Regions from separate parts of the Homo sapiens genome. Here regions 2, 3 and 4 are each linked to region 1. Evidence: promoter capture Hi-C in 16 types of primary human blood cells and fetal thymus (Javierre and others, 2016). All regions are on one chromosome and are shown on one strand. The core of a region is centred on a gene start or on the middle of the fragment in contact, and the rest is flanking DNA. Distances in the headings are between cores, read along the strand shown. Region 1 holds the start of IL13RA1 (interleukin 13 receptor subunit alpha 1). Region 2 holds the start of LONRF3 (LON peptidase N-terminal domain and ring finger 3). Region 3 overlaps DOCK11 (dedicator of cytokinesis 11). Region 4 overlaps DOCK11 (dedicator of cytokinesis 11).

Region 1 (8,000 bases), core at 2,825-5,324:
CTTAGAATAGTGCCCACAGGCAGCAAGTGCTATGTGTTAGCTATCTGCTTTATTTCTTTAAGACAAAACAATTCTAAAGAGTTGCTTTTTTTTTTTTTTTTTGGAGACGGAGTCTCGCTCTGTTACCCAGGCTGGAGTGCGCTGGTGTGATCTTAGCTCACTGCAAACTCTGCCTCCTGGGTTCAAGCGATTCTCCTGCCTCAGCCTTCCGAGTAGTTGGGATTACAGGTGTGCACTGCCACGCCTGGCTAATTTTTGTATTTTTAGTAGAGACTGGGTTTCGCCATGTTGGCCAGGCTGGTCTCGAACTCCTGACCTCAAGTGATCCACCCACCTCGGCCTCCCAAAGTGCTGGGATTACAGGTGTGAACCACTGTGCCTGGCCAGGGTTGCTTTGGTTTTCTGTTGAATTGATATGTGTCCCTGGCCTTTGAGACAGAACAAGTATCCCTTCTACCTGATAAGCTTCCCTTAGGCACCTAATTTCAACCATGTCTTGGGGATTGCACCACTGACTTCAGAAAAGGGAGTAGGAAGGGACCCAAGTATGTCTGTATCTAAACCTCAAATCCCAAGTCTGTACAGTCATCTAGCACAACATCCTATTTAAATTAAGAGTTAACACAATCTACTATTTCATAAGAAGGCATTTTGCTTAGCTTATAGCTTTTGCTCTCGCCTGTCCAATCACAGCAGCTAGCAGAGGCATGCACATTTTGGGAAAAGTTAAGGAAATCACAAGAGTCATATATGAGTCATCTGTCCCTTCCCTTACATCCACTCAGGCATCAACTCCTGTTCGTTTTTTTCTTCCAACATCTTTCTTAGTTACCCCAATCATGCAAATATGCTCTGTTGTGCCCCACCAGGTGGGAAGATACCAGTAAGTCATGGTCCTGGACAGGAAGGGTTCGCAGCACATTTTTCTAGTGGAGACCTGCAACCATAGATTCTTATGTAGCTTCACACTCCAGGGGCTCCCCTACCCAGTGAAGTCTCCCTGCTTGCTTCCTCCTTCTGTGTTATTTTTCCCATGCTGTGCCGGACTCAGAGCTTTCAAGGGCAAATCAAGCTATTCTGCCTGGATTGACTTTACCAATGCACTCTCCTGCCAAGCCAGGTTCCTTCTTGACCACAAAGGAGCACTCTTGCCCTCATTTCTGGGTCTCTGCTCCTGCTATTGCCCCCACCTGGAATAAATTCTCCACCTACTCAAATCCCAGTCATCCAGAAGATCTAGCTCAAGTTTTACCTCTTCCATAACACTACCAACCGTCAGCTTTTTCTCTTTTGAATGCCTATAGTACTAGTTGTTTGGACCACACAGCCCAGCCACTATAAAGCCAGTCTCCAATGTAGTATCATTCGCTTCTTTTTTTGTTTTGAGACAGTCTTGCTCTGTCGCCCAGGCTGAAGTGCAGTGGCCTGATCTTCCCTCACTGCAACCTCTGCCTCCCAGGATCAAATGAGTCTCATGCCTCAGCTTCCTGAGTAGCTGGGATTACAGGCATGTAATCCCACACTCGGCTAATTTTTGTATTTTTAGTAGACGGGGTTTTGCCATGTTGGCCAGGCTCAAACTCCTGGCCTCAAGTGATCCATCTGCCTCAGTCTCCTAAAGTGCTGGGATTACAGGCATGAGCCACTGCACCCGGCCTAATATAGTATCATTAGCTTCTTAACAAATGGCTTGCACATACTTTCGTGGGTCCCAAGCCGTCCTGCCCTGCTACCCTGGGAGGTGTCCAGCTAAGGACTCTCGTCTTTTCTGCTGGGCAGAAGCAATGAGTACAGTGGTTAAGGGCATGGCCTCTGGAATCAGGCTGCCAGGGTTGGAAACCTAGCTCTTCCACTTTGCCAGGTATGCGAATTTGGGCAAGGGTCTTGGTCGCACTGTGCCTCAACTTTTTCGTGTACAAAATGGGACTAATAACAGCACCTACAAGTTATATTATTGGTAAAGATTAAATGAAATAGTACAAGTAAAGCAGCTAGAAAACTGCTGGGCATAAATGCTATATACATGCTAGTTATAATTAAGACATGCCACAATGTGGGCCATTGAGTGGGACAGGTTAAACTAAGCTAGTAATCTAATCACTTTTATAAACACTCTGAGGATTAGAGCTGGAGGAGCTCTTAGAATTTATGCAGTTCAACCTCCTCATTTCACAGATGAGAAAACTAACTGCAGCACAAAAGAGAGGAAATGACCAGCCCAGAGTCCCACAGGTGGTAAATATCAGAACCACTAAAACTCAAGTCTCACTGGAAACATCTAATTTTTTCCCACCATACCTCAATGCAATTCTATCAATACTTTTAATGGGGAAAGAAGTTTGTTTTCTAAATAAGCAAGCTAACGACAAACCATTGTGACAGGACTGATGAAGTTGGGAGTTGCCAGTATTCTCTAGATGGCCAGCTGTTGTTTCAGGTGTGTGTGGGAGTGAGTCTGTAGGAGGGAGGGTGCTGGAGTGGCACTGTGAAAATCAGGAGACTAATGAGACGGGTAACTTTAGACAAGTTCCTTCCCTTCTCTGGACTGCAATGTCCCCATATGATTACGGAAATCAGGTGTACCCAACTAAACTAGAGGCCCTTTTGGGGCAAGAATTTTGCTATACACTCTCAGGTTCTAAGTCAACCTAGAGGGCCTGACTCAGTACTAAATAAGGCAGACACCTGAATAATTATTGACTGACAAGCTTCAAGTCTCCCTCAGGTCTCTACTCAAATGCCACCTTTCAGCAACATTTGTTTTCTTCTCGATCCACCCTTTTTACAATGGCAAACCCCTTCCCACCTGCTCTGTTTTTCTCTACTTAACACCCTCAGACATATCATATATTTTACCCCCACCCCCCGATATGTCTGAGGGCAGGCACCTCATCTGTTTTGCTCACTGCTGCATCCTCAGCCCCTAAACACTGCCTGGCAGCATGTATTTTATTGACTGAATCCATAGAGGGCATTAAGGTTTCCTAATCAACATTTCAACTTGGATTTCAAAGCACATTGGTAAAAATGCAATAAGCATATATAAGTGTTTGTGTCAATGTGATAATAAAACCTATACAGTTTGGGGCTTTCATTGTCACCAAAAACGTCCAGAAGGCCATTCCTTCCAGGAGCTGCTCCTAAGGAAGTCATTAACTCCCAATTTTTCACAACTGCCAGGTTGATTAACTAGAAGTTACCAAACAGGGTGAGGGATATACACAACTCTCTGAAGTATCTTTGCAACTTTTCCATAAATCTACAATTACCCTAAAATATAAGGTTTATTAAAGAGAGTGGGGTGGGGGGAGCATCTGCCGGGATGCTATTCTGGATTTCCCAAAGGATTTCTTCGACGCCAGAGGAGGTCATGAGCGTCACGTCCTTTTTCAACAAGGACTGAGATGTTTAGAGGTTCCCTTCAACTTCCACTCGCAAGAGCCACCCTTAGACAGTGAGGATTGGCGCGGCCTCGGGCAAAGAGCCCCGGCGCGTTCTCAGCTCGCCTGGACTTCGGTCGTGGTCCCCGCCGGCTCTGGCGCCTCATTTCCTCCCGGGCTCACAGGCGACATTCCGGGCGCTGACCCACGGCCCTCTGACGCCGTGGGCATGTTTCGGGCCCCCCGCCCCCGCACGCCTGGACGCCAGCCTCCTGGGCTCTTCCCACTACAAGTCGCAGCCCTCTTACTTCGCTGCCGCCACCTCCGCCGCACCCGGAGTTCGGGAAAACCCCGCAGCTCCCGGGTCCCACCTCGAACCGGCCCCAGTACCGGGCCCCAGAGATCCCGCGCGGGAAGCCGCAGCCGCCGAGCGCGGGGCCTCGCGAGGGCAGCCCCCAGCACCCACCCCAGCTTCGGCCCTCCGCCCGGCGTTGACCTCCGGGGCCTTTCAGCCGTGACCCTCACCGCCCTCAGCCCTCCGGCCGCCCCTCGGGCCCCGAGGGTCGCACTCACCCGTAGGCGCGGCGCCCCCGCCCCCGCCCCCGCCGCCGGCGCAGAGCAGCAGCGCCCACAGCCCGCAGAGCCGCGCCGGCCACTCCATGCAGCCTCTCGCCTCGGAGCCCGGCCGGGCTGGAGCCTTGGCAGTCCCCGCCTCCTTCGCTCCCTCTTCCACTTCCCGGCTCCGCCGCCCTGGAGGCTGGGGGCCGGCGCAGACGGGAAGGGCCGCCCCGCCCACCGGCCTCAGGTAACCTGAGCCGGCGAGAGCGGCCGGAGGAGGCGGGGCGGGGCGCCGGCGGCTCTGGCGGCTCTGGCGGCTCCTACGGCTCCCAAGGCTGGACACCTGGCCCACCCGCAGCTCCCGCGTCCGGTCTCTGACCGAACAAAACTTCTTCCACCACGTCGCCGCCCACTCCGGGCGCTGCCTGGGCCTCCTCCCTCCGCGTGGCGGAGCCGGCGTCGCCGCTGCCAGCACACTTGCGGGGCCTCGGAGGTGCTAGGGGCTGTGCCCTGCTGGACACCAGGACAGAGTCATCTGCGGAAAAGAGCCTTGGCCTGGGAGTCTGGAGACCTGGCTTCCAGCCCTTGACCTCTGAGCCCTTGTTTGCTAGCGCTGACTCCAGGGTTAGTAATACCAGCCCTACTTCACTGGGTGGAGTTGGGGACACTGGCAGTACTGTGCTTTGTGAAAAGGACAAAGGGCATATTTGAAAGCTGGCAATACATAATGTTGATTTTAAAAGGAACATTCCAAACATGAGGGAGGATACCATACGTGCATTTTTTAAAGCACACGACAAACTTTCTACATATTTTTCAAAGGGATGGGAGGTGAATCGGAAGAATACACATTGATACTTGGGCGCCTATGAGGGTCAGTGAGGCTGGGAGGAAGGAAAACAAGAGTCCTTAGGCGTTTCCTGTTGCTGCTGTCAAAAATGACCACAAATTTAGTGATTTAACAGTTTTATTTTATTACAGTTCTGGAGGTCAGAAGTGACACTGAGCTTAAATCAAGGTGTGGGCAGAGATGTATTCCTTCTGGATATTCTAGGGGAGAATCTGTGTCTTTGACTTTTCCAGCTTCTAGAGGCTACCCACATTCCTTGGCTTGTTGCGGAACTACTCAGACCTCTGCTTCCCTTGTCGTATCTGACTCTGACCCTCTTACTTCCCCTTTTCCCTTATAAATACCCTTGTGATTAGATTAGGTCCACCAGATAATTCATAATAATCTCCCCATCTCAAAATCCTTGATTTAATCATAACTGAAAAGTCATTTTTGCTATGTAAGTTAACATATTCACAGGTGTTGGGGATCACGATATGGAATCATGGGAGGGGGACATTATTCTATCACCTTCTCCCAAAAAAGAATCATGTCTAGGTGGATGATGAGACCCATAATGAGGTGTATTTTGGCCGAATTAAGCCAATGCATATACCTGAAAACAGTTACAAAAAGTATAGCAATAAAAATGCTGATAATATACCTAGTCTAGACCCCACCCAAAGGGCACAGGGTTGTTTAACCTATTCACAACAAAGGTTCCACTCTTGGAATTAAGGCTCTCAAACTCAATAAATATTTATGAAATTGTTCCAGGAACTGTTGAAGACACTCACCAAAAGCAAGCTCTGCTAACAGAAAGCTGCAGTCAGTCTGAGGGGCAATGATAAGGGCAAGAACAAGGAATTATGGGATACAAAAAGGGTACCTTTTGGGAGGGAAGGAGCAAGGGAAGCTTCCAGGAGGAGGGCCTGCCTGTGCTGAATCTCAGGATGTTGATTCTTTTGGCTAACGGTTCAGAATAAATTCCAGAATCCAGGCATGGTGGCATGCACCTGTAATCCCAGCTATTCTGGAGGCTGAGGTGGAAGGATCACCTGAGCCCAGGAGTTCAAAACCAGCCTGGGTCTGTAACAGAGTGAGACCCCGTTCTCAAAAAAAAAAAAAATAAATCCTGGCTTGCATGTGTTATCGAACAAAATAATGTTTATGAAAACAGTTTGTAAAGTATCAAGGCCTGTAGAACTGAGAGATAGTATCATTATTTCTAAATCCCTCCCACAAATAGGTCAGCCACTGTGTATCCCAAGGCCTTTCCTCCACCACCACGGACATATACACTTGTTGACATTTGCTATAAACATTATACAATAAGTTTATAATAACGTTTCCAAAATGGTTATGTCATCTGCCTTTTAAGGAGTCTTTAGTTGGAACAGGAGCCCCTGGGGACTGGCTGAGTGCCATCATGGGCACTGCTTGGCATAGATTGACCAAGCGCTTAATAAAACAGTAATGGTAGCAAATGATTAGAAAAATAGGGATTGCAGCTTGTCATGAGCTTCCAGAAAAGCCCTGAGAATCTGAACATCGTGAGGAAAAAAAACAAACGGCAGTGTGGAGAGGGGAGAGACCTGATTTCTTTTCACCAAGATAGTTCCGGCCTGCTGGCCTTAAGACTATATTGTTACTTTCCTTTCTTCCCGACCCTGAACATCATGCAACGATTTTTCAAATTTTTGGAAGGGGGTGGAAAGAGTCAGGAATGCTGTTTCTTCAACATAAAACTTGTATTTGTAATCTCCGTGTAGTGTGATTCGAAGAGCGTCTTGGATTGAATCAGGCCACTGCCCTGGTCTGCAGGAAGAATGAAGACAGATAGAAGGCTTTCCAGGAACTGCAGTAGACAAGGAGCTTTCAGTTTGGCTTTGTGTAAATCAAAATCATGATGAGTCAACATCAAGTTTAACCCTTAGAGTCCTGATGACTTGGGTGCGAGACTACCAGTGGCCTTTCTTTCACTTTGGCCCGGGGTGGCTGGAGTTCTGCGCTGCCCTGTGTACCTAGGCCACTCCACTCAACTGTTTTGACCTTTGCCCTTCTCACTAAGTCTTCGTCCATTTCTGTAACTGGAGGCTGAAAAGGGCATATGCAAGAAAATGTCTGGCAGGAAAGAATGATGTCCCTCTTTCCAAAGTCAGGTGTCCTTCCATCCATTTAGAGACACCTTCCTGAGTCCAAAAGGGACACAGACACCAGCATATTCCAAGGGCTTAGCTAAAAGTGCTGGTCCCTTAGACAAAAATCTCACAAAGAGTCCTCTAAGCAAAACCTCACACCACTGCAAAACAAAGAAAAAGGAGAAGTTGAAAACAGGGAATTTCCCTCCCGATTCTGGATCAGTGGCCCCCAACCAGGGGCAATTTTACATCCCAGGGGACATTCGGCAATATGGAGAGATATTTTTGGTTGTCATGACTGAAGCGGGGGCATGCTTCTGGAATGCAGTGAGTAGAGGCTGGGGATGCTGCTGTTAATACAATGCACACGACCGCCCCCACAACAAAGACTTACTCTACTCAAGATGACAACAGCGCCAAAGGTGAGAGAGATCCTAAGCTAGAATACTCTTTGTTGTCTTTTGTATTTGGTCCCCACCCACCCACTGTCCCCCATGCCTGGCCAAAATTAGAGATGAATGCTAAAAGTATGTACTCTTGACAACTCCCTTTCCTGTATCTCGTACCCCCAGTTCCCCATCCACTGTCTAGTCCTGCAGTCACTGATTAGATGGTAAAACATCTCTCAGATCTATTCCTCCCCCGACCACCCAGTTTCGCCTCTATGGTTCTATTTCAGGACTTTATTACCATTCCAGAAACAGTCTTCAAACTGGCCATGAGGGTCTACCCTTTACAAGACAGATCTTCCCAATGAGCAATCTGTCCATGTCACTCCTCAGCTTAAGCTTAAGTGACACCCCTCCCTTCATCAAATGCCACAAAAGGCAGTCTCAACTCCTCTGCCTGCAGGCTTGCCTCTTCAGGTTAGATTCCCCACACTCTTCCTAGCTTCACTTCCAGCCAAGCTTCCAGGTTCCAGGTGGCTGACTGGCCACCTTCAGGCTGAATCTCCCTTGTGAGCAATTGTGTTTGGTCCATATCATGTTGGAATTCATGGGGATCTAGATGCCAAAGTGTTTTTTTTAAGTCAGGAGATTTTGCCTAAGGCCCCAGATTTCCAGCTTCTCTTAATAAATCAAAAGTCCTGGT
Region 2 (8,000 bases), core at 186-2,685, 250 kb before region 1:
TTCCTCTCCTCGCTGGGAAGGTGCGAGCAGGTGTAAGAGGAGACCAGGAGTGCAGCGGGAGAAGGAGAGTCAGAGGAACAGAGACAGTGACACCGAAAAAGAAAGAAACAGTGACAAAGATACGAAGAGACGGAGAAAAAGAACCAGAAGCAAGGAGACACAGACAGGAACGGGGACTGAGAGACAGGAACACAAAAGCTAACAGAAGTAGCAGGAAAAGACAAAAAGCAACCGAGATCAACACAAACACAGTGAAACACAGATAAGCAGTGAAAACAGAACAAACTCAGAGACCCAGCCCCAGAATCACCCCTCCCCCACCCCGCCACAGTCCATGGGTCCCCCGCCCCCTCTTCTGCCCTGGTCCAAATCCCTTCTCGCTGCGGGGTTTGTTCTCCCGCTCCCTCATGTAGCCACCGAGCCCCAGCCCCGGCCCGGCAGCGCGTTGGACTCACCCAACTTAACTGCCTCGTTGTACTTGAGCAGTGCCGCCTCCACCTGGCGCTCGCGGTACAGTCGGTTGCCCTCGTGCCGGAGTTGCGACGCTCGCGCTGGGCCTGGAAACAACTTGCCGAGGAGGCCGCTGAGCACCACGTTGACTCGCAGCGGCGGCGGCGGCTGCTGCCCAGCCCGCCGGGCTCCACGCGCCCGCCCAGTGGCCACCATCAAGGCGGAGAGCTTGACCCCGCACAGCGCACAGCGCCGGTCGGCGGCCCGCCCACGTTCCAGGCACAGTTTACAAAAGGTGTGGCCACACGACAAGGACACGGGGTCTGATAGAAACCCATGACATTTCCGGCACTTAAAGCCGTCCCACACCTCGGTGGCCGCCGCAGCCGCGGCGGCCCCCGTCTCTTCCGCCGCCACGGTGCCGCTTGCAGTGCTACCCTCGTCCGGGGGCGCCGGCGCCAGCGCCTCGCCTTGCGGGACTTTCTCCGCCAGGCAGCGCACCAGCTGCTCCAGCTGCTCAGCCACCAGCTGCTGCCGCTCGGAGAGCTGTCTATACACCTCGAGGGCTTCACGGATTCGCCCCCGGGACGCCAAGGCGTCTGCCTGCGTGAGCAGGACTTTGCTCTCCGGCGTTGAGGTCCCCGGAGACTGCTCTTGCTCTGGCTCCCGCGTCGGTAGAGGTGCGGGGCCCTCTGCAGCCACCTTTGGGTGGGGGCCCATGTCTACTTGGGCCGCTGATGCCCCTCGCTCCGCCGACTCCAAGTTGTCGCTGCTGACCTCAGCGGGCAAGCTCAGCATCTGTTCGATCCGTACTGACTCCATGGGAAGAGGGACACGGGAGGAGACGAGGCGTCTAGGGACCGGGGACACGAAGCAAGGAGTGGCAGCTGGAGGAAATCGGGGCAGCCACCGCCGCCATGCCACCGAGCTCCTGACCCTGCCGCGCCTCCGGGAGCTCCATGCCGGCCGCCCCGCGCCGCCTAATAACTGTCTTGTCTCAGCAAAGTGTTATATAAAACGGTACCACGTGACGTGCCGCCACGCTGTTCATTGGCCGGCGGCGGGGAAATTGTTACAAAACCAGACAGTTTTGTAACAGTGTTGCTCTTGCTTCTTTGGGCTTCGCTTTTCTTGGCTTCTTTTTGAGGTTGTTTGTGTTTACACTTCGCCTTATTCCTCCTCACCACCTGGTTCTTTTTCGGAAGTGGGGTTGTGGGGTGGGGAGAAACTCAGTGTCTTCTCTTGGGCTTCTCAGTCTCCAAACCCCACTCCATCCCACCTCCAAACGGGCCAGCAAACAGGTCCCCTCTGCCAGCCGCTGACCAGCGGCCCCCCACTCCTCCCAGGAGAGGCTGGTACCTCGAGGTGCACAGTCCGCAGGGTCTTCCGGGACGCCTAAGACTCTCCCTCTTGGGGGAGATGGCTGCTGTCAGGGAAAGGAAGCAGGTTGGGAGGGGTATCCGTGAAGCCCCCCCACACACACACAACCCAGTCCCAGCCCGAGAGCCCTGGGAGCCCCGCCTGGGTTCCTTGCCTTCTCCCAGGAGCCTCCCAAAGGTGGTGAATTCGGTTTCTGAGGGTGCTTGGTGTTCTGTGCCAAGAGTGACTCAGAGCAGCGGGTCCCACCGGCGCAGAAGTTGGGCAGCGCTCGCTGGACAGTGAGGAACTCGCGGAGAAGATGCGCTTGCCGGCTCAGCCCTGGGAGGGAGATGCCCCGCTAACTCCCCTCTTTACCTCTCTACCCCCAACGCCAGAACTAGCGCTGGGGCAGGCGGTAGGCGCCCAGCTGGAGACACACCAGGCCGGCCCCTGGAGCCACTGGCCGGATGGGCGCGGCAGGGATGTACCCGGCCTGCTGGGGTCGGTGGGTACTCTGGGGGCGTGGGAGAGTGGCAGGGGGAAGACGCGAGCTGAGAGCGCTATTCAGGAGAAAGTCCGCGAATCCCGGCACAGCCCAGTGGCAGACCGAATAGCCTCCAGGTTTGTCGCTCCTGAGCGCTGCGCGGGAAGGGTACAACTGGGCACGAGCCTCAGCGCCTGGTTTACAATGGCTAGGGGGCCTCGACGGTGTCCTACACACTTCCTGAAGGCGAGCGGGGTGGCCAACTGCACACTCTTTGTCTGCCTTGAACCCCCACATTTAGGACGGGAACCAAGCTCACAAATGAGCAGACAGAAAACGGTATAGTCGCACTGCTCCAAGCAGGGAGGCAGGGACTAGGCTTGCCGCTGGCTCAGTTGGCCTTCAGAGCCTGCGGGCTCTTGGGCAGTGCCAGGTTGCCGCCCCAGGGGCCTGAAGACCTATTGTTGCCCCCTGCTGCAGCCACCTCTTAGCCAGATGACCTTGGGGAAGTCAAACTTTAGAATCCATCATTTTTGCTTCTGAACAAATGTTAGAGCTGATCTTACTTGGGATTAAGTCATGTTTCAGAGTTGGGTTATGGCAGGCCCCCTCGGGTCTCTGCTTCTCTTTAGGTAGTTAAACCAGTCTTAGATCAACACCAAGGTCCCAGAGAACAGGTACTATGCAGCCAGCTCTAGAGCCTCTTTCTAATAAGACAGGACAGAGGGAGAGGGTCACAGGGCAGAAAGGAAGCATCACATAGGGGAAAAAAGACACACACACGAAAAAAAAAAAAAATGAAGAAGAAGGAGAAGGAGAAGAAGAAATAGAGAAACTCCAGATGTAGTCAGGAAAGCACGAGGGACACATTGGAAAACTTGGCTTGAAGCCTTGGATTTGTCACATATTTGCTATGAAACCTTAGGTAGGTTCTCCAAACCTTAGTTTCTCTTAATCTCCAAGGTTCCCTCCAGCTCTAACCTTGAGTGGCTTTGATCCTAAGACCAAATTTCATGATACTAACTCAGTTACTTAAGTACAAATGACTAGTCCAAATGCTGTGGATGGTGGCTTGAACCGGGGTTGAGGGGATGGGAAATCAATGGAAGATTGTCCATTTAGTCGGGGTCAGACCTGAGCTAGATTTTTTTTTTTTTTTTGAGATGGAGTTTGGCTATTGTTGCCCAGGCTGGAGTGCAATGGAACGATCTCAGCTCACCACAACCTCCGCCTCCCAGGTTCAAGTGATTCTCCTGCCTCAGCCTCCCAAGTAGCTGGGATTACAGGCACGTGCCACCACAGCTGGCTAATTTTTTTGTATTTTTAGTAGAGACGGGGTTTCTCCATGTTGGTCAGGCTGGTCTCGAACTCCTGACCTCAGGTGATCCGCCCGCCTCAGCCTCCCAAAGTGCTGGAATTACAGGTGTGAGCCACCGCGCCTGGCCCCTGAGCTAGATTTTTAAGATGTAGAAGTCGGAGGACTGGCTAAGAGGTGGAGGAGGTGGCCATACCAAGCAGTAGGGGAGAAACTGGAGTTCCTGGTGAGTTGCTATCTAACTGAAGGGAGCTCTTTTCACCTCTCAGTTTCCCCTACTATCAAATGAGGTCCCCAGCACTAATTATCTGCCTGCCCCTTCAGGCATCTGTGAGGAAGGACAGTCGTTGGGGAAGGTAGAGATTCATGAGATAGATAATGATGAAACCATCTTAATTCAAGAGCTTTACCCCTTTGACATATCTAAAATATATATATATATGTCTGTTACCCAAAATTGTTTCCTAGATGCAAATCTGGGATGTGCTTTGCTCCGTGGATGACCTTGACAAGGGAATATCCCCTGGGTTGATTCCCCTCCCTTGCCCTGTTATGGTAGGAAGGCTAAGAGAGGGCCAGGTCAGGTAGAGAGTCACAGTCCTGCAGGCATGGAGAAGAGAAGCTCTCTCCAGGCAGGCCCTCTTGGCTGCCAGTGCAGGAGGTTGACCGTGAACTTGGTCAGGAATGTGAATAGCAGTCTGGATAATGCGAGGTACTCTGGTGTAAATGGCAGTACCAGCTACTCACTGACCAGACTCCACAGGGAGTTTTACATTGTAATCAAGACTGCCTGTAGGACAACACCAAGTGGGTTTCTATTGAATGCTGAAAAACATTATCACAGTGGTTTTCTTTCTTTGTTTGTTTAAGTTAAACAAATATTACCATTACATTGATAGACATTGTTGAACCAATTCAGAAGTCTCCTACTCAGAATTTCCTTCCCTCTGCTCTTACTAATTGGAGCCCCCCTGGAATGAGGGGAAGGGGGAGATTAACACCATCTTTTTCAGGTGCAAATATTCCCTTTGGAGTGTAAGGTTCTTTAAACCTCCATTTATTTTGCTAGGATCACCTTGTGGCTAAGGTTAACCAAGAAGAGAGAGCAAGGATTGAGCTGCCCCTCATTTTCAACTAGTAGTTTTCCAACTGGACTCTCAAGAATCTCTTTGGGGCTCAGAGGAGACAAGCAGACAGGCTTTGACCCTAGCTCCCCTCAAGCAGGGCAGTATTGTATCCATCTGTTTCACATAACTGAGCCTCCAGGTATGATTTCTTTGAAGAAAAGCTGTCCCTTACAATATCAAGTTTGAAAACCATAGCAATTTTCACACATTTTCATATATTTGTTGGGCATCTTCCACATACCAAGGACTGTTCTAGATACTGGAGACACATCAAAGCAGCAGCCGGGTGTGATGGCTCATGCCTGTAATCCCAGCACCTAGGGAGGCTGAGGTGGGTTGATCACGGCGAAACCCCGTCTCTACTAAAAATACAAAAAAAAAAAAAAAATAGCAGGGCATCATGGTGCACGCCTGTAATCCCAGCTACTTGGAAGTCTGAGGCAGGAGAACGGTTTGAAGCCAGGAAGCAGAGGTTGCAGTGAGCCAAGATCACGCCACTGCACTCCAGTCTGGGCGACAGAGTGAGAGACTCTGTCAAAAAAAAAAAAAAAAAAAAGCAGCACATAACTCCCAGGCTCTCCCTCACTTATGATAGTGCATCTTTCCCCACATACACACATCCTTGTACTGGCTTCCCATGTAGGCTAGAAGCTTCAGAGGGCAAGGACTGGTGTCTTATATCTCCTCCAGTGACATAAGCAGGACAGTGCTTGAACAGATCTTACTGAACATGCCAGTGGACATTCTGGCCCTAGGAGTGTGCAGAGGGACAAGAGGAAACAGTTGGAATGCCATGCACTGTGGTCATTCACAAAGCAGAGACTGGGCACACAAACAACAAATGGTTGACAGTCCTGTACTTGGAAAGGCCTGCTGAGCAACTCTGGGACGAAAGAGTCCATTCGAAGCCAGAGACCTGTAGTAAGGTGTAAGCAACCCCGCACACACATACACATGCACACACTCTATGCCTGGAAGCTTGGCCAAAGCACACATTTGTTCTGTATCTGATATTCTCATTTTATAAACTGGGGTGACCCATAAATCTGCAGTCCTTACAGGGGGAAAAAAAGGAACCATGGACATTAATGGTATTGATATGGAAAGCAAGACCGCTCCTTGCTATACAGAGTAGCCAAAACCCACAACTAAAAGAAAGTTTAGCCGGGCATGGTGGCTCACGCCTGTAATCCCAGAACTTTGGGAGGCCGAGGTGGGTGGATCACTTGAGGCCAGGAGTTCAGGACCAACCTGACCAACATGGTGAACCCCCATCTCTACTAAGAATTAAAAAAATAAATTAGCGGGAGTGGTGGCGCGTGCCTGTAATCCCAGCTACTGAGGAGTCTCAGGCAGGAGAATTGCTTGAACCCAGGAAGTGGAGGTTACAGTGAGCCAAGATCGCACCATTGCACTCCAGCCTGGGCGACAAAGCAAGACTCTGTTTCAAAAAAAAAAAAAAAAAAAAAAAAAGGAAAGAAAAGGAAGGAAGGAAGGAAGGAAAGTTAGCTTACACATCAGCTCTGGTTTCACAAATGAGGCCACTGAACACTAGAGAAGGCAAGTGACTTGCCACAGGTCATAATGAATTTGATACAGCCAAATTGGAAGCTAGGGCTCATATCTCTTTGTTTATAAAATTTTTTTTTTCATATGATCAGAAAGCTAAAGAGCACAGAACATCTCCTTCTTTTTTTTTTTTTTTGAGACAGAGTTTCGCTCCTGTTGCTCAGGCTGGAGTGCAATGTCGTGATCTTGGCTCACTGCAAACTGCGCCTACTGGATTCAAGTGATTCTCCTGCCTCAGCCTCCTGAGTAGCTGGGATTACAAGCATGTGCCACCGCGCCCAGCTGATTTTGTATTATTTTAGTAGAGACAAGATTTCTCCATGCTGGTCAGGCTGGTTTCGAACTCCCGTATCTCCTTCTTATTACTTATTGTAAGAAATTATTTCAGATTTCCCACCTACAAGATTTTCATCAGTTCAGCAAATATTTATCGAGCATATACTATGTGCTAATGGAGTTGGCATTTGTAGGGCAATAATAGGATGTGACACAGTCCTTATCCTCTAGTAGCTAACTGAGGAAACAAGAGACAAAGATTTAAAAAATAACAGGCAGTCTGTAAGAAGTGCCAAAATTAAGGGAACAGTGTGTCCACGGAAGCCCTCAAAGGGGACAGACTGCAATGCAGTCTCATGGAAAAGGTGCTTTTAAGCTAGGTTGGAGAGGATTTAAATAGAGAAGTGAGACCATCCTGCGGCTCAATACCAGGGGACTTCCTTTATATTGGGGGATAGGTGGCCCAGGAAAAAGAGAATTCCAAGTAAGCTGGACTGGTCAAGTGCAGTGACAGGATCTCAGCTCACTGCAACCTCTGTGTCCCAGGTTCAAGCGATTCTCCTGCCTCAGCCTCCCGAGTAGCTGGGATTACAGGCATGCACCACCACACCCGGCTAATTTTTGTATTTTTAGTAGAGACGAGGTTTTGCCATGTTGGCCAGGCTGGTCTCAAACTCCTGACCTCAGGTGATCCATCCGCCTCAGCCTCCCAAAGTGCTGGGATTACAGGCGTGAGCCACCGCGCCCAGCCAGGAATTTGTATTCTTAAAGGCTACGCATGTGATTGTGATGCTCAGTTAAATTTGATGTTCACCCATGTAAAGGATGATGCAGAATACACTGGAGGAGTTTACCCCGATTCTTCCCTCCCTACCTCATCCTCAGTTCCCCTGGTAGTGGCATTAATAATTCTTCCCTACATTTTACTGAAGGGTAAACTGAGAGTCCAGAGACTTTCAATGATGTGCACAAGGTCATTCAGCAGTAGTGGAGATACTGGCCTGTCAACCACTAAGAAAAGAAAGATGGCAAGATACTATCCCAAGGAAGATTTCGCTTAATTTCTCTGCAAGACAAGTTAGACGCGCTTGGTTAGCCAGGGAGTCTGTCGCCCAGAGTGCAAAAAGGAGCAAGTCTTGAGCTGCCAGGTGTGTGGGACAGAGCCCAGGGCAAGGTTAGTTGCTGGGAGGTTGGAGTTCTAACTTTGCTATGTGACTCAGCCCAAGCCACTTCCCCTCTCTCTTTATGTCTGTTCTTCACCGATGAATAACAATGCCCAGCGTCACTGTTGGAATTAGTTACCAGTGATGGAAAATGCACAGTGCAGTTAGTCCCGATGTGAGATGTGATTCCTGGGAACAGAAGGGATGCACAGCCATCTGTTAATTGTTATGAGTAAAATTTGCGCTGGCTGCTCTCA
Region 3 (8,000 bases), core at 4,115-6,614, 210 kb after region 1:
CAAAGGCAGCCCTTGTAAAACTCTGGCATCTTTCTCTCCCTCAGGGACCCTTGGCCAGAGTTCCTTTTGAAGGGCCCTGGGGACAGACCATTGACAGAACAGCTAGCTGAGAGAGGAAACAAGAGATAACAGCCTTCACATCTCTGAAGCAAGAGCCATGCTCGGTATGAGGAGGACTTGATTCAATATGGCTAAATGTGATGTTGCTCTGTGGCTTAGTAAGGGATGTGAGAATGACTGAAGACTTGAAAGCCCTGGCTCATATCTTTCATACGACTGGAGCTGGAAGCCAGACCTGCTGACCCCAGGTCCTTGTGCTTGTCTTGGTAGCTGCTCCCAAGATGTCATGGCCTGGGAACTACCGCCTTGCTAAGGATAGGTTTACAACAGAATGCCCAGCAGGGAAGCGATGTTTTTCACTGCTCAGGTCTTTCTTCTTTCTTTTCTGTTTGTGAATTAAGACATGGAAATTTCACAGGGAATAAGTAGGCACTATTTTGCCACCTATACGGGAAGTGGTAGAAAGTGATTGTCATTTTTGCTGACAAGGGGAGGGTAGTTAAAAAGAAACATGGTCAAATCAAAACATTAAAGATTTATGTATTCCAAATGGAGGTGTTACGTTCTTTTTCTTTTTTTTTCCTTTTCTGTTTTCCCCCAGAGTTTTCTAGCACAAACAAGTACCGCTGGTATAATCCAAAACATACAATCAACTTAATTTGGTTTTTTTAGTTATTGTGGTAAAAATATACATAAAATTTACCATTTTAACTATTTTAAAGTATATACTTCGTTAAGTATATACTATATAAGTGTCTGCATTTGGCATTAACTATATTCACATTACTCTGCAATCATCATCATTACCCATTTCCAAACTTCCTCATCATCCCAAAGAGAAACTCTGTACGCATTCAACTCTGCACTTCCTCCACACCGCCCCCGCCCATCCCTGGTAACCTTTATTCTATTTTCTGTCTCTATGTACTTGCCTATTCTAGGTACCTCATATATGTGGAATCATATAAAATTTGTCTTTCTGTGACTGGCTTCTTTCACTTAGTATAATGTCCTCAAGCTTCATGCATATTGTAGCATGTGTCATAATTTCCTTCCTTTTTAAGGCTGAATAATATTCCATTGGTCATCTGCTGAGGGACACTGGGCTGTTTCCACCTTTTGACAATTGTGAACAATGCTGCTATGAACAGTGGTGTGAAACAAGTATCTGAGTCCCTTCCTTCAATTCTTTTGGGGAGAATTTCCCAATTCCACCTAATAGAATTGCTGGGTTATATGGTAATACTTTTTTTTTTTTTTGAGACAGAGTCTCGCTCTGTCACCCAGACTGGAGTGCAGTGGCGCTATTTTGGCTCACTGCAACCTCCGCCTCCTGGGTTCAAGTGATTCTCCTGCCTCAGCCTCCTGAGTAGCTGAGATTACAGGCACACGCCACCACGCCCAGCTAATTTTCATATTTTTTAGTAGAGATGGGGTTTTACCATGTTGGCCAGGCTTGTCTCAAACTCCTGACCTCATGTGATCTGCCTGCCTCTCCCAAAATGCTGGCATTACAGGTGTGAGCCACCTCTCCCAGTCTATTATATGGTAATTCTATATTTAACTTTCTGAGGAACCACTTAACTGTTTTCCATAGTGGTTGTACCATTTTACATTACCCACCAGCAATGCACAAGGGTTCCAGGTCCGCCCCGCCCGTGTTCCTCAACACTTATTTTCCAGTTTTTTGAATAACAACCATCAGAACAGGTGTGAGGTGGTATCTCGTTGTGGTTTTCATTTGTATTTCCCTGATGACTAATGGTTTTGAGTATCTTTTCCCGTGCTTATTGGCCATTTGTTTATCATCTTCAAAGAAATGTCTATTTAAGTCCTTTGCCTGACTTAAATCAAGTTTGTTGTTGTTGTTGCATTATAGGAGTTCTTTATCTATTCTGGACATTAATCTCTTATCAGATATATGCTTTACAAATACTTTTGCCCATTCTGTGGGTTGCCTTTTTACTCTCCTGTTAGTGTCCTCTGATTTGAGAAAAAAATCAGAGGACACCGACAAATAAAGTTAATGTAATCAACTTTATTTTTTAAAGAAGGTATGGGTTGAATTTTTAGGGAGCAAACAGACAGCCTGAAATATGGATGGAGAAGGTACGCCTAATACCTCCTTTTTACCCTTCTGTGGGTGAAGGAACAAGAACTGAGGTATTCTCAATGAGGTCACAAACTCATCAATCGTCCCCCAACTTGGCTCCTTTTTAGGCAGCTAATGCGGTGGGGCACTTGTGTACTAATGACAGTCACAGAAAGGAAACTCATCTGGGTGTGGTAGTGAGCCCAGCAAGGGCAAACAGGCAGGGTGGGGAGGACATAGATCTTACAGGCTTATACGATTCCTCAGCCCTACCAGCTCTCTGTTTCTGGCTGGTTCTTAACTACACACTCAAACTTCCAAACTTCTCACATAGAAGACAAACATGCAGATTTGTCACTACTGAATGGAGAGGAATGCTTGAGTAATTATTGTGAAAAGTGACACCCAAGTTCAGTTCCATCTCGGAGGATCAAACTCCCCTTCTTGTCTCTCTGCCCCTTATTTCCTTTCTCTTCAGTCCCCCCTGCAAAATGGGCCTTCGAACCAACTATTTGTCACATGGGAGTTTGTTTTCTAAGTATTATTGAGTATGATCAATTTACACAGGCAATGAGAAAAAGCAATACATATTCATTTTCTTCTAGGAATAGCCCCGGAACTATACTCAAATCCTCTAGAAATGGCTGTGTCTCAGTAGCTTATGTGAATAAACTCAGTCCAAATTTCAGGACTATCGTGAGGCTGAACTGTTGAATATCCTTACTAAACGTGAGAAACACAGTGCACAGTGCAGGTCCTGTAAACTGAAATTTCTCGCTCTACAAAGTACTGATTTGTTTTTGAAAGGTATTGACAATTACAGATCACCAACCTACCAAACTGTCTTTTCATAAGCAGAGTAAATAACCTAAAATCTTCTTACCTAGGAAGCACACCTAAAACCCCATGAACTGCCTGCTGCACATGCATTCATTTAACCAAGAATCCAATGAGAAGGATATTTCTAGAAAGGTCTCCACCTAGACATACAAATGGCTTAGAAATTTCAATGTTAAACAACCTTTATGCTCAGTAAGTTCTTTTTTGTATTTAATTCAAATCCTAAGGGCAAAAACTCAACTTCTTTAGCATGTGACCATATGTCCTACCCTCAAAGCCATTTCATTATGAGGGTGGGGAAATGAAAGAAAATGTAGGACAGGAGGAAGAAATGTAACTCTTCTCTATTATGCTTCTAACATTTATTGAAAGCTTGCTAAGCACCAGGTACTATGCGAAATGCATTACATGCGTTACCTCATTTAATTTTAGCAATGACTGTATGAGGTAGAGAATACTATCACTACTCACATTTTATCAATGGGAAAACAGATTAAGAGAGGTCAGAAACTTGCCCAAGTGAGCAAATAGAGTCAGCGTAGTACGCCAAATTCTGAGATGCCCCTAGAATTCTTGCCTCCTGGTCTACTCACCCTGTTTAATTCTCCTCTTGAATGTAAGCGGGACCTGTGAATATTGAGAGATATCCCTACCCTGATTAGGTCAGGAATCAACTGACTGTGAGTTAATCAAAACAGAGAGGATTCCAGGTGGGCCCGACCTAATCAAGTGATCTCTAGAAGAGGAACTGGGCCCATCCTGAAGAGAGAGATACACCTGCTGGATTTAAAGAAGTAAACTGCCATATGATGAGAGGCCTATCTGTCCAGGACCTGAGGATGTCCTCTAGGAGGTGACAGCAACCCCCAGCTGAATGGGACCATTTCAACTACTTCAAGGAACCAAATTGTGCTATCTTGAATGAGCTTGGAAAAGCTCTGAGCTTCTGGATAAGAATGCAGTCCTGCCAACACCTGTAAAACCCTGAGCAGAGAATCCAGCTGAGCCATGCCTACACTTCTGACTGTGAAATAATAAGTGTGTTATTTTAAGCTGCTAAGTATGTGGTAATTTGCTATGCAGCAACAGAAAACCAGTATAGTCAGGATTCAAAGCCAGGCTCTATTTAACTCTGGAGTGCATGCTTTTTTTTTTTAGACAAAGTCTCACTCTGACCCCAGGCTGGAGTGCAGTGGTGCAATATCACTCATTGCAACCTCCGCCCCCTGGGTTCAAGCAATTCTCCTGCCTCAGCTTCCTGAGTAGCTGGGACTACAGGTGCCCGCCACCACACCCAGCTAAATTTTTGTATTTTTAGTAGAGACGGGGTTTTGCTTTGTTGGCAGGGCTGTTCTCAAACTCCTGGCCTCAAGTGATCTGCCTGCCTCAGCCTCCCCAAGTGCTGGGATTACAGGAATGAGCCTGGCCAAGTGCATGCTCTTAACCACTACAGCAGATTCTGCAGCAGTTTTGTGAATTCCCAAACATTTTCAATGCTTTAAAGAGTAAAGATATTAATGTAAATCTCTATGTAATAGGAATGGTTATGATATTTTCTTCTTCTAGTGCAGTTTTCAAGTTTTAGAAATGTTTTTTTTACCACATTCTAGTATAGAAACACACTTATTGATATGTTACATTTGAGATGGAGGGAGGGGAGAATACATATTCAATAGAAAACTACTCAAATACAATGTGATAATAGGTTACGTTGTGAAAAATAAGTAGGATGGAAAACATAAGATTTCATTTACCAAAAACACCTTATTAGAATAGACGTGGCTTTTGCAAGAGCTCCAGGGTATGCTATTTACAAATACTTTCCTTCTGACTATTGCGTGAACTACAAAGTCTGTCATGTGGTGCTTCCAAGGAGATGACAACACATTCCCTCTTTTAACAGGGCACAACTAAAAATGTAGTGAATATGAGAAGCCAGTGAATTCTCTGCTGCAGTGAAATAAACTTAAAGAGAATTCCAAAATTCAAACACTGTGGTTGCTTTTTGGAGAGTGTCAGTCTAGAACTAATGGTTCATGTTCCCCCTTCATACAAAAACTACACACGGAGGTGAATTGATGAATAATAATAGCTAACACTTAGCCTATGCAAAGGGTTGACCATGGATTATCCCTTTAGGCCTCATGCTTACCTTATGCGGTAGGTATGATTATCACCATCACTCCTATTTTATAAACAAAGAAACTGGGACTTAAAAAGGTTGAGTAAGTTTCCCAATATTCCACAGCCAGAAAGTGGCATTTCAACTCAGAAGTGGACACCAGAGCTCATTCTCAGTCACTTAGCTATATGACCAAAACTTCTATTGCTTTCCAACTAGATGTTTCTTCCATCCTTCACAGTATCTAGGAATGCTCAATAAATTTTGCTGGTAATGATAAGGAATGAGAGACCGGAACCTGAGGGAGTAGATAAGGCTTCCAAGCCATTCATCACTGTGAGAAGATGGGAGATGTGGAGAGGGCAGAAGTTGACAGAGGATAAGGAAGCAGGCTAAAGGCAGCCCCCACTTATGTGGATGTCAGTCTAAAGGAAGTGAACAGGATTGTACTACTTAGAACTCCAAATATATGTTGACTAACCACGCACAAGCAGATTTAATTCTGGCCCTAAGATCATTTAAAAAAATAATAAAACCCAGTTTTCCAGAGTGTATTTCTCTCTTTTGGAAAAGTTTCTGCTCCACATCTGGAAGTGATTTTCTAACAACACTAATTCCAATGAGTCATCTATGATATTAAGCAATGATTCCATAGGGTGAACCCTGATCATATTTTTCCATTGACTGGCAGCCACCGAGGTCAATGAAAGGCAAAGGCGAACCCAGACATGGAGAACCTCACCCTCCACAGCTCCATCTTGTATTATCAAGGACATGGGTTTTAAGAAGTACAGGAATGCAATCCATCTCCCAGCACTAATGCAAGGCATCTTCTAATATACTCCGTTTCTTTTCACTGGTTATATGCAGAAGATGGATCCAAAGGCTGCTTGAGGGGAAAGCAACCATAAATTAAGCTGGCAGAAGAAACATTATGAGGCCATGTGTAACCATGAGGCAGTTAGAAAAGCAGGGAGTGGGCTTTCTGGACAAAAGAACAGGACAGCCTATGGTACACAGAGTACAGCCAGAGCTCAGGAGCCTTAATGCTGCCAGCAAGAATTTCCCCAAGGAATATTCTAGAAAGCACTGCCAGTCAATCCCTTGCCCTTTCATCCTAATACAGTGGCTCCAACCATCAACTTTAAACCAATATCATATTGGTTTCCTAATATTTAAGATCTCTAGTACTGATGTTTAGAAGTGTAACTTAAGTCCATTTCCCAGTGTCTTCTGACACTTGGATTTCTTTCAAGTTACAAAGAAAGAATGAGTCATGTTCTCTTAGAGACTGAGGAGCCACTTACAAAGGCTATTTTAAATTTTTTGAGTGACAAGGGTATTATTTAGTTCCCAGAAACAATAATTGACTAAATGCCTTCTTCAGGTCTGAAGGAGTTAATGCAACTTCCCAGAGTTATCCTTCTCTCCCAGGTATAATCTGATTTTAAATGGCAGAGGAGTGACAGTGTGTTACAAAAACTGAAATCCCACCTCACAAAACCCTGCCTTAAAAAAATATAAATTAGTGGATGGTTACTTGCATTACAAAATTATGCTTTGCTTTTCCAAAGGATTCCAATAAAGTTCATTCAAAAATCAGATTCCCCAAGTGTATGTGAAATGACGTGATTTGCCCAAATTTGATTTACATATGGGCCACATTGAGGAAACACAGCTGCTCCAAAGTCTGAATTTGGTTAGCAGGTACCTCTTCACCATGATTTTGGTGGTTCACATACTCATTTCATCAGCGCCTTGCCTCCAGGGTCACACAGTGAAGAGCAGACCTTAAAATTTCTTTTCTGTTTTGAGACAGAGTCAAGCTCTGTTGCACAGGCTGGAGTGCAGTGGTTCACTGCAACCTCCACCTCCCAGGTTCAAGCATTTCTCCTGCCTCCACCACCCGAGTAGCTGGGATTACAGGTGTGTGCCACCACGCCTGGCTAATTTTTTTGTATTTTTAGTAGAGATGGGGTTTCGCCATGTTGGCCAGGCTGGTCTCAAACTCCTGACCTCAAGTGATCTGCCCATCTTGGCCTCCAAAAGTGCTGGGATTACAGGCGTGAGCCACCGTGCCCAGCTGACCTTAAAATTTCTGACTCATAATCCCCCACTCTAACAATAAAATTGCTTTGCTTTTACCTGGCACCTTTCATTCAAAGCCTTCGAAGTATTCAATTCTCATTTGCTGTAAGTCTCCATAATTATGCCGAACAAGTCAGCAAGAGAGCTGGGAATGCAAGCTTCCAAATTATCGAGATGGGACAAAAAGTTTTTTTAAAAAAATATTAGGACTACTGACAGGCAGAAAAATTAAAGGTCCACGGAAATGCAAAAGAACTACACTTAGGATATTTTTTGACAAAAAAAAATTTCATAGATCTTACTTTTTTAAATAAACTATTTTTCAGAGCAGTTTTAGGTTCCCAGCAAAATTAAGCAGAAATTATAGAGTTCAGTTCCCATGTGCTCCCTGCCCCAACACAGGCTCAGCCTCCCCTACTATCAACATCAGGCACCAGAGTGGTACATTTGTTACAATTGATGACCCTACAATGACACATCATAACACCCAAAGTCCATAGGATACATTAGGATTCACTCTAGGTGCTGTACATTCTATGGGTTTTGTTTGACAAATATATAATGGCATGTATCCACCACTGCAGTAGTATATGGAGTAGTTTCACTGCCTTAAAAATCCTCTCTGCTTCACTTATTCATCCCTTCATTTGCCCTACTTTTTCAGTTACAAAGAGGAAATATCCAAATCCCAGTTTAAATACAACAAACCATTTCTTTAAGAGATGGGGGTCTCACTATGTCGCCCAGGCTGGACTTGAACTCCTGGGCTCAAGGAATCCTCTCGCCTTGGTCTCCCTA
Region 4 (8,000 bases), core at 3,787-6,286, 190 kb after region 1:
ATTTGAAATATAGGAAAAGTACATATATATCCACTTTTTAAAACTCTGGTACTATGCCGACAGGCTTTCTAAAACCATTTGGCAATTACTAGTACTGGGATCTTCCTTTATGGGTTAACTGTGTCTCTCTTACCCAGTTGGTGGCAATAAATCCCAATTCATATGCCCTTTGAATACTCTGACTCTCAGTGCAAAGAGTATTCAAATCCAAAAGGAAAACACTAAGGTCATATGCACCTTGTGGAAATGTTTAAGCTTTATCATCATATAGACTTGTTAACAGCATATAAACTTGTTATTTAGGACAGTTAATGTTAGTTATTTTATTTTACCTTTACATTAAAGGAAGACTACTTTAAATATTTTACATTTATGTATTTATAAACAGGTTACAAATACATAAAGACATATAAATACTGTATATATTTTAAATATATGAAGAATATTCTTCTGTGGCCTTTGAGCCTCTTACCTCTTTAACAAATAAACTCTGGGCCCTCTTTTCAGCATCTTCTGGTACAGTAGACTGCACCGTTCTGCGTTGACGACCTATCACCGAGATCTAGAACACAAAGAACATTTTTGCTGTAAGAACTGGCTTGAAAAATAGGGGTTTTTTTCTTTAAAGAAGTGTTTGTGAACTCACAGATATATCTTCCATTGGGAACATAAGCAGATCTCGGAGGGGGTCGCTGTAAATCTGGGTTTTTCTTTGGGCAATAACATTCTCATAGTCCAGGGGCTCAACAACTTTGGCCTTTTCCTTTATAAGAGACAAAAGTAAAGTTATTATGATCAAACTCACAAGAGTTAAATAACTTTCTATGTACTAAAGATACATTACTTCTCAAAGGAAGGGATTACTGATACTTTTAAGTACTTAATTGAGACAGTTTCACAAGAGAAATAGTCTTCATAGCTAGACACACACCACAAACACATACACACACACACACACACACACACAAACACACACACACACACACAGACATTCTCTTGCTAAAGATAAAGAGTTCTGGCTGGGCATGGTGGCTCATGCCTGTAATCCCAGTACTTTGGGAGGCTGAGGAAGGTGGATGACTTGAGCCCAGGAATTAGAGATCAGCCTGGGCAACATGAGAAAACCCCATCTCAACAAAAAGTACAAAAATTAGCTGGGTGTGATAGCCCATGCCTGTAGTCCCAGCCACTCGGGAGGCTGAGGCAGGAGGATCACTTGAGCCTGGGAGGTTGAGGTTGTAGTGATCCGTGATTGTGCCACTTATATCTGGGCAACAGAGCAAGATCCTGTCTCTCCAAAAAAAAAAAAAAAGTTCTGGAGAAATAGAACTGTGTTATTCTACTTAATCTGTGTGCCTTCTAAAAATTATTGAATTTTAAGTAAAACAAAAAGTGGCATACTTGGAAGTGTGCCTGTTGGTATTTACTGCATCTGTACTACTCTCTGGGCAACGTTGGAGGAGAAAGTATCAACATTCATGTTCCTACTCTGTACCAGGGACACTGTCCCATGGGCATACTAAGTTCCAGCATATCCAGGGCAGGCATAGATACTAGAGATGCTTGATCCCTTGGGCAGGTTATGAAAGGGTTAGGTTCAAGGTGACAAAGTCAGTGGATCCCTGCTGGACTTCTAGGCGAGCTGGCCATTGACAGTAGGACCCAGACTGAAGCTAAAGTAACAAGAAGCAGGGTCAGTGATGCTAAGAAAGCCAGGATGTAACATAATAAGAGTAGTGGTAACAGTTCACATTTACTGAGCCCTTTCTATATGCCAGGCACTGTGCTAAGCGCTTTCTGTACATTTTTTCATGTAACACTCATAGCAATATGAAACAGATTGAATCATTATCCCCATTTTACAGATGCAGAGACTCTGGACCTAACTGAGGTTAAGTAACTTGCCTGCCTTCAGAACTGGAATTCAAACCCAGGTCTGTGACTGCAAAGGCTCTGCTTTTCTTTTTCCCCTCAGAAATACACAAAGACGGCACCCACTTCTGCACACCCATGGCTGACCCTGCAGCTGTGTGTACACATGCAACTGACTTCAATGTCTATCATCACTAGTTTTCATTGTCACAGGTGTGCATGCCATAAGCCTCAACCCCCACAGCCATATGAGGTGACCCTGACTTCCACCACTGGCCATCACTACTGTACATGCACCCACAGCTGTCATGCATGCACACCACCAGCCCTTGACCCCTGCAACTGCGGGGGAGCGGGGGGCGGAAAGAAAAAGAAAGAAATATACCAAGATTCTCATGTGCATGGTACTGAACTGGGAATGGGATCCCACTATTTACCTTCCTATCATTTTTTTTCCTTCATTGAACTTACCACAATCTGATATACCATCTATTTCACCTCTCTGACTATTTGAGGGCAGGGATTTTCTTTTATTTGTTTACTTCTTTAATCCCAGCACTTAGAATACCTGGCACACGGTAGACATCCAGTCATTAATTGCTGATGAACTTTGAGATATTCAGATTCAACCAGAGCCATGTCTCAACACTCTATTCTAAACCAAGGTGGGCAGACAGTAGTAATTTTTAATGATGATGTTTCATATGAAATTATTTCCTTAAAATTTTATAATAAAAACTGTATAAAAACCCCAAATATAATTTATATTAAGACTTAATATTATAATAGCATCGGGATTATACTTGTATTTTTGTACATAGTATTTGAGGTAGTCTCTAGTATCACTACATCCATAGAAAAGTTGAGAATAGTTTTTATACATGGTTCACAACAGGTCACAGCTATACCCAATTTCCATATCGGAAGGGCATCTCAGAGTTTCCTGTAGAAGATTATTTAGAAAGATTAAAGTAAACTACTCTGACCAATGAGCTCAGTGTTCAACAAATCTAAAAGATCCTAACCTTTATGCTTTATTTCAAGTCTTAAATTTGGATTTGTAGACCCATGTCTACAAAGATCAAAGCAAGTTGATCATCCCTCTCATGTCTGCAAATACTACTGCAAAATGAGTTGAAATAAAAGGAAAAAATCCTATTTGAGAAATTCAGATTTTCTGACAGAAAAATCTGACCCCTTTCGGCCATATCTACCGTGTTTCCATGGACTCAAAAGGAAACTGACTGCATCTTCCAGCTCTAACGCTCACAGTCTGAGATCAATTTCTCAGAGAAGTTGAATGAATAAGTCCTATCTAAGAAAGCAAGCTTGAGGCACTAAAAATAATCTAAGTCTTGCTTTTGGTGCCAACTATTTTCCTAGTACAGATTGCAAAAACAGTCCTCAAATTTCAATGTTTTAACCTGTTGAATCTGTCAACTTCTCTGTACAATAATTTTACAAGTACCTACTTCAAGTATATTTGAAAAAGAAAAAAAAGAAAATCCTCCTTCAGCTTTCTTTTTTCTTTTCTTTTCCTTTTTTTTTTTTTTTTTTTTTTTTTGAGATGGAGTTTTGCTCTTGTTGCCCAGGCTGGAGTGCAATGGCGTGATCTCAGCTCACTGCAACCTCCACCTCCTGGGTTCAAGCGATTCTCCTGCCTCAGCCTCCCGAGTAGGTGGGATTACAGGTGCCTGCCACCACACCCAGCTAATCTTTGTATTTTTAGTAGAGACAGGGTTTCACCATGTTGGCCAGGCTGGTCTCGAACTCCTGAGCTCAGGTGATCCCCCCGCCTTGACCTCCCAAAGTACTGGAATTACAGGCATGAGCCACCATGCCTGGCCCTCCTTCAGCTTTCTAATGTAGCTCCAAATTAATATGGAAAGAATATGTCAAAATGAATCACTTATTTTTTTAATTTATGGGGTACAAAGTGGTGTTATGATTTTTAATACAATGTAGAATGATGAAATTAAGCTAGTTATATCTATCACCTCAAATATTTAACATTTCTTGTGATGAGAACATGAGAAATTTATTCTTAGTGATAAGATGTACAGTACTCAATTATTAGGCATATTCAGCATGCTATACTATTGATCTCAAAAAAACCAAACTTATTCTTCCTGTTTAACTGAGACTTTGTATCCCACCATTGACTACCATCTCCCCCACTTTGCCCCCAGCCCCTGGTAACCACCATTCTACCCTGCTTCTATGAGTTTGATTGTTTTAGATTTCACATATAAGTGAGATCATGCAGTATTTGTCTTTCTTTGCCTGACATACTTCACTTAGCGTAATGTTCTCCAATTCCTGAATTACTCATTTATTTAAAAGTATATACCTTCTAAAAATGAAACACAGCTTACCACATGTTTTGAAGGACATATATTTATGTTATAGAAAACAAAGTTTCACTTTTCATTTAAAACTGATTAAACTAAGCATTCTGGGTCTTCACGCCTACTTTTTTTGTCAGGGGTAGCTCAATTGCGGAAAAGTTAGGGTGGCTACTCTGGGTCCCACAAAGCTTCCCCTAATAGAAGATTTAGGCCTGTGAATCAGGATTCATCTCTCCAAGAAGAAAGATGAGAAGGGACTGAACCCTGCATTTCCCTTCTAGTAGGATTCAGTTATAACTCTGCAGGCATCAGAGACAAAGAAAACCTTTTGACCTATAGAATTATCATGATTTAATGGTGGTTCTGCCCTGCAGTCTCCATCATATCCCTTATCTAACTTTCTCATTCAGCTTTCTCATTCTATTATTAGACTTATACATAAAAGCTTCCAATACACTCAAAGAGGGTCTTTCTTTCAGCTTTGTAATTTATCCTTTCTGCCAGTGTGCACTGATTGGCCTGCAAAGGTGCTTTTTCATAACTCCAAAAACCCGTTACAATAAATGGTACCTTAAACATTCAAATAATAGCAACTTCCATACAGTTCCGGAGCAGTGCTAAGTAAAAGGCGAAGGCATTTATGCAATCTGGAGAGAAGTGAGCATATGTTTCAGTCTTCTTCCCGTAAGTAGTGACAGGAAAACCGTCAACCTAAATTTGGAACCAACTCAGTTTTCACCATGGGGAAAACAAAACAAAACAAAATGATTTGTTCTTAAAAGTTTTCATTCACTGACTCCTAAGTTTTCTTGAATAACTTGCTAATAATATTAGTATTTTTTGTTAATTCATTTCAAGGTCACTTTGCAGTCTTAAGAAAACACTTTCATATGCATTCTGTTTGTTACCAAACGCTTTGTCAAGTAGACAAGGAAAATACCATCATTTCAACTTTATCCATCAGGAAACTGGCTCAGAGGCCTAAGTTCATCTGTCTACATTAGGAGCTGAACCAGGATTCAAACCCAGGTCTCCCAACTCCTAATCCTTGTTTCTATTAGTTTCCCGAACTTATTCACATATAATCCTCATATTTGCCACACCATCTGTATTATCATTTACTTCATATTTTTCTTCAAATCAAATATCTTCTTCATTGAAAACATTTATTGAAAAAGAAAGCTTCATATCATCCCATAAAGGAGAATAAATTGCATTTTTCTATCTCTAGTAAAATAAAAATGCCAATTTTGGTACCATGGTGTGGGATGCAGTACACTTTTCCGTTGCTTACTCAGGCCACTAAGGACCAAATCTCAATGAGCTTTCTATGTGCAAACTCTACAAATGGGAAGAAATGCACAGCTCCATAAATTGAGATAATTTTATTTCTAATATAAGTGGAAAGGACAGATAGCAAAAAAGGAAACTCGTCAGAATAGATTCAGTTGCAGTCCACTTCTTGGTCCAAAGAGAGGAAACAATGGATCCTCACTGAGGGTCACTAATAGCATCACCACTTAGACTTTACAATTTTGTGGTGGTTCCTGTACATTCGCAGTACAGGATGACTGATCTTTTATCATCGTAACTGTATGTGTATAAATATAAAACCATGCTTGTAATACTAAAATACATAAAAATGTACATGAATGTATATATTCAACCATCCAACCACTCATGTATCCAAAAGCACATTTGACTAGCAGGCATATTTATGTTATCATTAGAAATGTGTAAGACACAAGAATAATCACATAATATTTATCTGTAAGCAATGCAAAATGAGCCTGGGTTACTTCTGCTTAAATACCATACCAAAGGTCATTAGTTTACCGGTAAATCTTTTACTTTAGAAACTAGTTCTCCTTAAGAATTCTAAGAATGTCTCTTCTGCAAGTCTGAAGTGAACACTGGCATCATAGAATCTCTCCTTTATCACACTGGGAGGGATACCAGAAAGCAGGCAGAAAGCTGAGCAGTAGGGCACAGAGCCAATTCAAAAACATCCCTGCACCACCACGCCACCACTACCACCACCCCATCCTCCAAACTGAGTTTCAGCACAAGGAGGAACATGGCAACTACTGGTTTCAGAAAGAGAATGATTAGCCCAAAAGTGCTTTTTTGCAGTATTGCAGTCAGACTACAGCCTCAATGACATCTGAGCATTTTCTTATGAAAAATAACAACAGTCTTGGGATAGAAGTAGCACACTCAAAAAGAGGTGAGTCTCTCCTTCCCATCATTTCTCCACGACCTTCACTTAGGAATTTCTCCAGATCCCCTAGTCATTCGGCTCTCCTTTCCTCTCAGACATTTGTAAGCAGAGCCTAGAGTGCTTTCTCTAGAGAGCATCTTAAAATAACACTTTGCACTCAAAATGGCCACTGGGGGCATGCAATTTCCGGCAGCACAGAAAACAAAGTGAGTTCAGCATAAAGATGCATTTATTGAGTTCCTACTGAGGTTCTGGCCCTGTGCTAGCCCCTGGTAATGCAGAGGTGAATAAAAAAACAGACCTTGCCCTTGAGAAGTTCACAGTCTCGTGGGGAAGGTAGATAAACCCAAGATGTGAGAGCTGATCACAGACTATTGTAATTTCTGTGCATCTATCATGCCCTTTGATAGCCATATCTTCTTCCAAAAAAGGAACTGTACAAGTGTGTTTGCACACTAAAATGTGTGAGTCCCTCTATTCCCCATTAGATCAATCAGAAGAATTTCATCATATCGATTTATGTGGTCTCAGATCATTTCATCTTGCCTTCTAGTTTTATTCATAAACCCTGTAAGATCAGAGACTAGGTAACTGTCAAGAGTGGTGTGTGAATATGAGGAGAAGCAAAAGTTGCATTATGATTCACAGAAGTGAGAGATGCCACCACTGTAGATTAGAGACTTCTAGAGAGGAACCCTATACAGCATGTCAATAATGGAACCATAACTGTAAGGATTTTTTTTTTTTTGAGACAAGGTCTTACTCTGTCGCCCAGGATGGAGTGTAGTAGTTTGATCACAGCTCACTGCAGCCTCAACCTCCCTGGGCTCAGGCAATCCTCCCACCTCAGCCTCCCAAGTAGCTGGGACTACACATGTGTGCCACCACATCAGGCTAATTTTTGTATTTTTTATAGAGACGGGGTTTTGCCGTGTTGCCCAGGCTGGTCTCAAACTCCTGAGGTCAAGTGATCCACCCATCAAGCCTCCCAAAGTGCTGGCATGAGCCACTGTGTCCAGCCTGTAAGAAATTTCTTCATAAGGTTCAAATAAAGAGTATTTGACTTTGTTATGACCATGGCCTGTTTGTTCCAAATGTGACCATCTTTCAGCAGCTCATCTCTTTGTCTCTTCCCCAATAGGAACTCCAATTACTGAAGGAGCTTTGCATAACTACAATCTAATGGTGATGTGGTGGGGCGGGAGGGGCATCTTTTTAACTAGCAGAACCCAACTTGCCAAAATAGACATGAACATCTTTTCATAAAGATTATTTTCTGGGGAAAATCTTGGCATAAGAATCTAAATACAAACTGCATTCAGGACACTGACCTTTCTTAAAGTAAACGGCTAAGGGAAAAGTCATACTTTCCATGAGACCAGTGGGTCATGTTTATTACCAACCCACACTTAGCTCACCTGATTCTTATGATAGCATAGCCCTCCTCGCTCCCCAACAGCCCTTATTGTCTTTCCCATCTATTGTGGCATTTACTCATATATAACATTCCCTGGATACTTAACTGCTTTTTGGGTGGTTTACTTAGTCTCCTAGGCAGG

What was found. Contacts are between HindIII fragments. The CHiCAGO score rates a contact against its expected background, and 5 or more counts as called.
Region 2: the fragment with the promoter of LONRF3 here is called in contact with the fragment with the promoter of IL13RA1 in region 1 in 14 of 17 cell types (monocytes, fetal thymus, total CD4 T cells and 11 more); the score reaches 14.4 in monocytes.
Region 3: a fragment that was not itself captured here is called in contact with the fragment with the promoter of IL13RA1 in region 1 in 2 of 17 cell types (neutrophils and monocytes); the score reaches 6.9 in neutrophils.
Region 4: a contact is called between a fragment that was not itself captured here and the fragment with the promoter of IL13RA1 in region 1, in 4 of 17 cell types (monocytes, naive B cells, neutrophils and 1 more). The highest score is 8.7, in monocytes.

The regions. Positions count from the first base shown.
Region 1 is chrX:118,723,680-118,731,679 of GRCh38, reverse strand. IL13RA1 (interleukin 13 receptor subunit alpha 1) reads right to left here and starts at 4,074. Exons shown (of 11, transcript NM_001560.3): 1 at 3,954-4,074. The coding sequence starts at 4,041. RefSeq lists a silencer at 4,036-4,465. The HindIII fragment of the contact is 2,975 bases long and covers 2,711-5,685 here.
Region 2 is chrX:118,968,053-118,976,052 of GRCh38, reverse strand. It overlaps LONRF3 (LON peptidase N-terminal domain and ring finger 3), which reads right to left and starts at 1,435. Exons shown (of 11, transcript NM_001031855.3): 1 at 456-1,435. The coding sequence starts at 1,272. The HindIII fragment of the contact is 6,269 bases long and covers 1-5,388 here.
Region 3 is chrX:118,518,465-118,526,464 of GRCh38, reverse strand. The region is part of intron 1 of DOCK11 (dedicator of cytokinesis 11); the gene reads right to left. Among named protein-coding and RNA genes, the nearest start is that of DOCK11, 27 kb to the right of the region's middle. RefSeq lists an enhancer at 2,226-2,285. The HindIII fragment of the contact is 3,996 bases long and covers 3,367-7,362 here.
Region 4 is chrX:118,535,488-118,543,487 of GRCh38, reverse strand. DOCK11 (dedicator of cytokinesis 11) reads right to left here. Exons shown (of 53, transcript NM_144658.4): 2 at 647-763; 3 at 473-562. Among named protein-coding and RNA genes, the nearest start is that of DOCK11, 44 kb to the right of the region's middle. RefSeq lists enhancers at 6,509-6,558, 6,959-7,038, 7,269-7,318. The HindIII fragment of the contact is 737 bases long and covers 4,668-5,404 here.